Linked DNA regions of Homo sapiens: regions 2 and 3 are each linked to region 1. The links are contacts of gene promoters, found by promoter capture Hi-C in blood cells and fetal thymus (Javierre and others, 2016). All regions are on one chromosome and are shown on one strand. Each heading gives the region's core, a stretch centred on a gene start or on the middle of the fragment in contact. The rest is flanking DNA. Distances are from core to core; before and after follow the strand shown.

What was found. Contacts are between HindIII fragments. The CHiCAGO score rates a contact against its expected background, and 5 or more counts as called.
Region 2: a fragment that was not itself captured here is called in contact with the fragment with the promoter of CRNKL1 in region 1 in 3 of 17 cell types (naive CD4 T cells, naive CD8 T cells and total CD8 T cells); the score reaches 6.1 in naive CD4 T cells.
Region 3: a fragment that was not itself captured here is called in contact with the fragment with the promoter of CRNKL1 in region 1 in 1 of 17 cell types (total CD4 T cells); the score reaches 5.3 in total CD4 T cells.

The regions. Positions count from the first base shown.
Region 1 is chr20:20,051,042-20,053,741 of GRCh38, reverse strand. CRNKL1 (crooked neck pre-mRNA splicing factor 1) reads left to right here and starts at 1,276. Exons shown (of 14, transcript NM_001278628.2): 1 at 1,276-1,450. The coding sequence starts at 1,400. CFAP61 (cilia and flagella associated protein 61) reads right to left here and starts at 1,210. Exons shown (of 27, transcript NM_015585.4): 1 at 1,151-1,210. RefSeq lists a silencer at 802-851 and enhancers at 942-1,241, 1,252-1,421. The HindIII fragment of the contact is 2,238 bases long and covers 1-1,319 here.
Region 2 is chr20:17,972,526-17,975,302 of GRCh38, reverse strand. The region is part of intron 2 of MGME1 (mitochondrial genome maintenance exonuclease 1); the gene reads right to left. Among named protein-coding and RNA genes, the nearest start is that of MGME1, 4.9 kb to the right of the region's middle. The HindIII fragment of the contact is 5,566 bases long and covers 1-2,777 here.
Region 3 is chr20:17,952,737-17,955,436 of GRCh38, reverse strand. It overlaps SNX5 (sorting nexin 5), which reads left to right. Exons shown (of 13, transcript NM_014426.4): 3 at 1-72; 4 at 1,320-1,441. Among named protein-coding and RNA genes, the nearest start is that of SNORD17, 8.9 kb to the left of the region's middle. The HindIII fragment of the contact is 888 bases long and covers 890-1,777 here.

The sequences.
Region 1 (2,700 bases), core at 27-2,526:
AAAAGTGAGATAAAATATCTAAATAATATGGTTAATAAAGAGTTATGGCAAATACATTGATGTTGGTTATAACTGACTGCAGTTCTAGAAATCTGCATAAATCTTTTGTTGAAAGTAATATCTGCATTGGTAGACGTGATATTACTACATACATAAATATATATTTTCCCCAAACACCAAAAGAGCTTTGCAACTGTGGAAATTATCCTAACAAATGAGCTGCCAAGTCATGTCATTATACATTTGTCCAACCTCATAGAATGTACACCAAGAGTGAACCCTAATATAAACTATGAACTTTGGGTGATAATGATGTGTCAATGTAGGTTCAAGATTGTAACAAATGTACTGCTCTGGTGGAGGATATTTTTAAGAGTTGGAGGCTGTTAGAGGAGGGAAGAGGTACAATAATTGATAGCAGGAAGCTGTGGAGGGAGGAAATCTCTGTGTCTTCCACTTAATTTTGTTGTGAACCTAAAACTTCTCTAAAAATGTCTATTAAAAAAAATTCTCTTAACCTTTGCTTTTCAGTTTTTGAGGGCAGGTTAAGTATTATAACAGCTAACATCTACTGAGCATTTGTCTTTAATCCTAGTGAAACAGATGTTATTAGCCTTGTTTTATAGTTGAGGACATTGAGGCTAAGAAAATTTAACTAGAGTAATTAAGGCACACACAGAATTTAAACATGTTTCTTATCACAAGACTGAGTTGTTTTCCAGTTACTCTATTTATATTTTTTCCTAATATCTGGCTTCAAAGTACCTTCTGTTATTTTTAATTCCAAGCCTTAGAGTTAATTATTTGGGCACCTTAGAATTATTTGGGCACAACTGTCCCGAAACCAGAAACGAGGGGGCGTGGACCCAGAGACTACTAGAATGCAATGCTCGAGGCATTGCAGCCTAAAAGGGCGGCAGCTCGCCCCGTCGCATGCTGGGAATGGTAGTTTCCTCGCTCTCCCTTCTTCCCCCGCCCTCGAGCATCCAGATTGGAGCTCCGTTCTTACTCCCTTGCAGGGCGCCACGGCTCGACAGAGCCACTCGTCCTCGCCTGGTCATCCCAGTTCCGGAGGCTGACCTGGGGATGCGCCCTGGACGCCCTGCACCGCAGTCCTTGCGTCGCTGCTAGTCAGCACGGCGTTACCCACCTCATCCGCAGCTCCAGGACGCCGCACTCCACGCGCTGCCGCAAGGAGGACGCGCAGCCTGGTCACCATGGAAACGGTGCCGCCTCCGTCACGGCTCAAGCGAGAGGTCAAAGGTCAGTCCTGCAAGTTCCGCTTCCGGTTCCGAGATCCTGTTTGTTTTCTGAAAGCTTTGTGGTTTCGGTGAGCTCTCAGAGCCGATTTCTAGCGTCCGTGCCGGGGACAGGTGTCCAGAGGTCGACTGCTGCAGACATGGCGGCCTCCACCGCGGCCGGGAAGCAGCGGATTCCCAAAGTGGCCAAGGTAGGCGATCGCGAGGGGCCTTGTAGGAGGTGGCCTAGGAAAGGGGCATCCCTCAGCCCTGAGGGTGCCCGGGTTGGGAGAGAGTGTTCCCGCCGGGGAGAAGGCTCACCCTGAGAGATGGAGAGGAAGGGCAGCTGGTGGTGGGGCGCGGGCTCTTGTCATCGCGGAGCACGACCCGCGTTGGCGTGGCCTTCGTTCTGGGGTGGTTTTGCTGGGGAGTGGAGTGGGGTGGTTCGGTGAAGATTTACTGAGCCAGGCACTGCACTGGGCGCTGGGAAGCTACGCTCGTACGCTGGCCACAAGCAGTACTCAAAACACGAGTTTCTGTATAAAGACGACCTTGCTAGATGTTACCGAGAGGCAAAGTAGAATATGCCATGGGCGTGAATAAGGGGGTCGTATGAAGGGGTCCTGAAAGTAAATTTTGCTGAGGAAATGACCTTTAAGCTGAGACTTGAAGGCTGAATAGGAGTTAGCCCAGCTGACAGCGGAGGGCGAGAGTAGACGGTAGGAGTAGTATAGTATCATAAGTTAATTAAACAGTAGACTTACTATCTGGTATTTCCTTTGATAGCTAATACTTACCAAGTGCTTAATATGTGGCAGACTTTGAAGCCTTTACAGATACCCTCCCTCCAGTCTTTCTTGAGCCCGGATGACTCTCTTGAACTGGACCTTTACATAACTATTTGTCTGACTCGCAGGAGTAATGCATATAGAGCAAGTAACACTGTGTCTGGCACTTAGTGCTTATTAAATATGAGCTATCACCATTATCATCATTACTCCACATGTGGCATTAAGTAACATTTTTTATAATTCAGCTACATAAACTTTTATTGGGCATCACTGGTCCAATGGAAATATAATGCACACCACATATGAAATTTTAAATTTTCTCATATCTACATTAAAAAGTAAAAACAAAGCAAAAAAGTGAAATTAATTTTGATAATATATATTTTATTTGAGCTAATGTATCCAAAATATTATCATTTCAACATGTAATCGGTATAAAAAATGTAATGAGGTAGTTTATTCTTTTTTATACTTCATCTTCAAAACCAATGTGTATTTTACACTTACAGTCCACCTCAATTTGTACTCACCACATGTGACTCATAGCTACTGTGTTGGACAGCACAGCTCTAAGCTACGTTAGACTGTAAGCTTCTAAGACCTCAAGAAGCTTACAGTCTAATGATGAGAACTTACTGAAATTGCCTTTGACTTGAAGTGCCATGTAAAAC
Region 2 (2,777 bases), core at 204-2,703, 2.1 Mb after region 1:
ACAGGCATGAGCCACCGTGCCCGGCCAAAAATTACATTAGTTATTTTTAAGTGACAACCCCTAAGACCAAATTTCAGCCTCTTGTGAAACCTAAGAATATACTTTGAAACCAACGGGATTATTAATAGGACGTTAGGTAATAAAATGAATTAAAATTAAGTACTTCTAGGAGAATTGGGCCAAAGTCAAAACTGAAGATCTGGCGGCTACAAGACCACATCCAGTTTATGGTACTATGTGTTTAAGTATCCAATGTAATAAGTTAACTGGCTGTGATAAAATAAAAAAAAATTAGAAATCTAGGGAACTGTGCTTCTGTTTGTAGTTCTTTTTAGACCAAAACTTAATTATGAACATAGGTGGGGGAATCCTTTTACTAACAGGATTAGTGACAAACAAGGAATGGAAAATAAGGCATGCGCAAATGAAAAGTTATGAATTTGATATTATGGAATCTGGAGGGGGAGGAAGAGGAAAATATGTGACATTCTTCTCCTGTATTTTTTTTTTAGTGCTGGAACAGCCTGAAAAATTCAGCTGTGTCTCAATTTTTTTCCCTCATACATTTTTCTATTCTAATATTTAATATTTAACATGTAATATTTTTCTAATTAGCTTTAGATTATTAGAATTCTGATTTATGGCTTGTAGGAGGACACATCTTCTTTCTTCCTAACATTTTATAACATGTGAATACTAGAGAAATTTCATTAGGACACATTAGGACACATTATTTTTCCTGTATGTTCATTTTCTGAGGTCAAAGCCTTACTTTTCGTCCCCAGGTTTCTCCGAAAGAACTGTAGTGTCTGGATTTGTTGGCGTATCCCAGGATCTAACTTGATTTTTGAACTCTCTCCTCATTTTCAGTGCTCGTTGGCCTCCAAGCGCTTGCATAGTAAGCCCCCTCCTCATACACATTTTAAAAAAGGGAACATGGCCGGGCATGGTGGCTTATGCCTATAATCCCAGCACTTTGGGCAGCCAAGGCAGGCGGATTACCTGAGGTCAGGAGTTCAAGACCAGCCTGGCCAACATGGTAAAACCCAGTCTCTACTCAAAATACAAAAATTAGCCAGGTGTGGTGGCGCATGCCTGTAATTCCAGCTACTCTGGAGGCTGAGGCAGGAGAATTGCTTGAACCCAGGAGGCAGAGGTTGCAGTGAGCCAAGATCATGCCACTGCACTCCAGCCTGGGTGACAGAGCAAGACAATCTCAAAAAAAAAAAAAAAAAAAAAAACACACAAAGAGACTCAACAAACACAAGAAATATATTCACTTGTTTCTTAGTAAGAGGAGAGAAAGAGGGGGGACTGTTATGCTAAGCAATGGCCTTGGAGCTTTCAAAACATTATTTAATTTTCAAACCCAACAACCCAGCAAAATAGGGATTGTAAGTTACCCCCATTTTAATGAATGAGGCCCTATCCCACCAGGCAGTGCTGTTAATTTGCCCCAAAGCAAAAAGCTGGACAGGCAGCCTGGCACCAGAATCTGTTTCCAATCTACCACACAGTAGAGCAAAGGAAGCAATCTTGGAAATCACCAATTAGATACTCAGAGAAACAGAGCAGGAAATACACGTGCTTGGAACATGCTTGCAGAGAGACCCACAGAAAAGGCGGAAAACAACTTTACATTTGTCAAGTTTTTTTTTTTTTGAGACAGGGTCTTACTTGTCACCCAGGATGGAGTGTACTGGCTCGATCATTGCTCACTGTAACCTTGAACACCTGGCCTTAAGCAATCCTCCTGTCTCAGCTTCCTCTACAGGCATGTGCCACCACGCCTGGCTAATTCAAAAAAATTTTTTTTTTGTAGAGATGCAATCTCTCTACGTTGCCTAGGCTGGTCTTAAACACCTGGCCTCAAGCAATCGTCCCACCTTGGTCTCCCAGAGTGCTGGGATTACAGGCATGAGCCACTGCACTCGGCCTTCAACTATTTTTTACAAAGATGGAAATGTCAATTCTTTTTTTTTCCAGGCTGGAGTGCAGTGGTATGATCTCGGCTCACTGCAATCTCCACCTCCCAGGTTCAAGCGATTCTCCTGCCTCAGCCTCCGTAGTAGCTGGGATTACAAGTGATCGCTGCGCCCGGCTAATTTTTTTGTATTTTTAGTAGAGATGGGGTTTCGCCATTTTGGCCAGGCTGGTTTTGAACTCCTGACCTCAAGTGATCCGCCTGCTTCGGCCTCCCAAAGTGCTAGGATTACAGGCATGAGCCACTATGCCCAGCTGGAAATGTCAATTCTATCATTAGCAAAAAATGGAATCCCTTCTGAAAAATTATTTGGAGAGTTAAATGAAATTCAACTTAGGAACTAAGTTATTCTACTCCAAATTTACTTGACTCAATTGGAATTATTAACACGTGAAAGACCTACAAGAAATTTATGACTGATGGAATTAAAGCCTAGGAAAAAGAAGTGTATAGCATTCATCTACACACTAGGTTAATGAAGCAGAAGACAAACATGTTAAAAACAGGAAGAAAAAAACTTAGCAAATGCCATGCCAATAGACCATACATTTCTCGCTGCAAACTTACCCCTGGCTAGGTTCTTCATATACACATGATCACAAACATGAAAACCTAGATTACAGGATCCTTTAGACACTAAGGCTCAGAACATTCAACATGATTCAATTTATAAAAATAAAAAATGATCCAAGAATATTCACTGCATGTAGCATCAAGTCTGCTTATTCACTCAAAGTAATGAAAGTGAAATGTTTTCAAGTCCTCGTATATGAAGTGCACTAAAAAAAACCTT
Region 3 (2,700 bases), core at 84-2,583, 2.1 Mb after region 1:
ACAAGGCAACATGAAGACTTTGTGTGGCTACATGACACTCTTATTGAAACAACAGACTATGCTGGGCTTATTGTGAGTCTTTTAGAAAATCAAATAAGCTAGTTCTTTCTGCCTTGCTATGCATTAGTTTAAAAGAGACTTATATCCACTTTTTTTAATGGATTGTGAAAAGTTAGATTTCATCTACCTACTGGAGTATTTGCTGACTGTCAAGTGGAAAGTATGTGAAGGAATAGTGTTACAGCTTTGAGGTGGTGCATACAGGCTTACATTATTTACATTGTAAAGGGGTGTGAACAGTGTAATGACTTTAGTCTTACCTACCTTTAGGTTTGGTTTTTCTCTGGTATGTTTTTTCCTATGTCAGTAGAATTGATTTCTAGGAAACACTGCTATTGGTAATAGTTTGTGATAAGATTTCTCAAAAGTTGCTGAAGGAGGCCATGCCTTTAATCCTAGCACTTTGGGAGGCCAAGGTGGGTGGATCACCTGAGCTCAGAATTTTAAGACGTGCCTGGGCAACATGATGAGACCCTGTCTCTACTAAAAATACAAAAAATTTGCTGGGCGTGGTGGTGCGTACCTGTAGTCCCAGCCACTGGGGAGGCTGAGGCATGAGAATCGCTTGAACTTGAGAGGCAGAGGTTGCAGTAAGCCGAGGCCGTGCCACGTCACTCCAGCCTGGGTGACAGAGCGAGACTCTTTCTCCCAAAAACAAAAAAAGTGCTCAAGGAGGCAGTTTTCAGCCCTTGATTGTTATTTCTTGGCGGCAGGAACAGACTTAACTGATTTTAAAGGAGATTTCCACGCGTTTTGTCCTGCCAGGCAGACTGAAGAAGCTCTCCAAATGATGATTGCTTAATCATTAAACAAAATTAATACCGAAGCTTATATTTAGATATGTCTTTCATTCAAAATTAGAGTCCTTGATTATCCTTTGGGATTAGGAAAAAATTCCTTTGGAATACTGAACACTTTATAATCTTGATGGCTCATCTTTGGTGCTTAGCATTCGTTGTACTAGTTTTAGGCGAACACTGAAGCAGTATAGACACTGTTGTGCTCTGAACAATTGTCTATAATGGATAAACTGAACAAATGATTGCCATCAAAGTGAATATGCAACTCTCAGGAAGACACCTCATTTTAAATGTCCAGAAGAGTTAAGGAAGGTTAAGAAAAAACAGGAGTTGACTTTTAAATAGCCCCACAGGAGTGGAGTGGTTGTCTCCTGTGGACCAGCAAGAGTAGAATGAGGCACCAACTAGAAAACATCGCTGCTGGGACAAGAGGCTCATGAGTTCCTGCCTCTGCTGCAGATTCCACCTGCTCCTACGAAGCCCGACTTTGATGGTCCTCGAGAGAAGATGCAGAAACTGGGAGAAGGTGAAGGGTCTATGACCAAAGAAGAATTTGCCAAGATGAAACAAGAACTGGAAGCGTAAGTGGATTTTCCTGGTGGGCTCTGTCTTTTGAGAAGTAGAAAAGTGGTGCTGTGTACAAAAATAAGTAGAAGAACCTGACTTAATTTTGTTTTAAGTGCAGCTGTTTAATTAGGTCCCTAGCGTCGTTTTCTAAAACTAGTAATACATCTTGCATAGTGTGGGACATGGTCTTTGTACTTCACACATTGATTCATTGGAGGCCATTGACACTAATACCCGATAGAGTAGTTGTCTTTTCCCATATGTAGGGCATACTTATTAAGGATGCTGGTCTGGCACAGTGAGGAAATAAACTTTTGTGCCTTTATAAATTGCTCATAATGTACAAAGCTTTTCTTTCGGAAGCTTGGTTACTAGACGTTGAGAAGAAACTAGAGAGTTGGGGGTTTCGTCATGTGTTGCCCCGGCTGGTCTCGAACTCCTGAGTTCAAGTGATCAGCTTGCTTTTGCCTCCCATAGTGCTGAGATTATAGTGAGCTGCCCCTGGGCCAGGCCAAATAGTGCTGTTATAGAGTAGCATTCTCAGTAACCATCACATAGATAATTTGAAAGAGGAAGTCCAGGTCTACAGGCAGCAAGTATATTTTAATCTGGTTGTCATTTAATTTTTTCAAACAAAAATAGATTTTTGGAAAGTTTCTTATGAATCCATCCTTGCATTTCCTCATCTTAGCTGAAAAGTACTCATTCCTCCCCTCTTCAACCATCAGCTCCCCCTCTCCAAACCCCTGTGTCATCTAGGGCAGCACTCAAACCTCCAGGCCCTGAAAGCATTTAGCACACACTTGAGTGGCTCTCGGGACCAGCTCTGGGGAATGAGGCACTGAACACAACAGATCCAAGTTTCTACCGTTAGGAATTTTAAGGTGACTTTTAATGTCTAGGTTGAGATAAAGCTGCTTTGTAATTTTTGTTAACTTTTAGCTTCATTAGACTCATGCTGTATACTTAGGCTGCAGTTAAAGGGTTCTCATTGCTTTAAAGAAACAAATGTTCTGTGGCTACTAAGTAACAGTAATTGCATGTAGATTTAGGAGCTCATGGACTTGACCCATCAAATCCAGTTACAACATTGCTTTCCTCCATAGTCTTATTCCACAGATTCAAAAATGGCAACTGCCTTAGTATCTAACTAGACACCAGTTTATACTGAAATACTGTTTGGTCCAGTTGCAGTGTTTTATGTGGTGGCATGAGCAGGGCCATAGAATTAATCAGGAGTGGTATTGGTCAGGTAGTTGAGCTGTGTCAACTG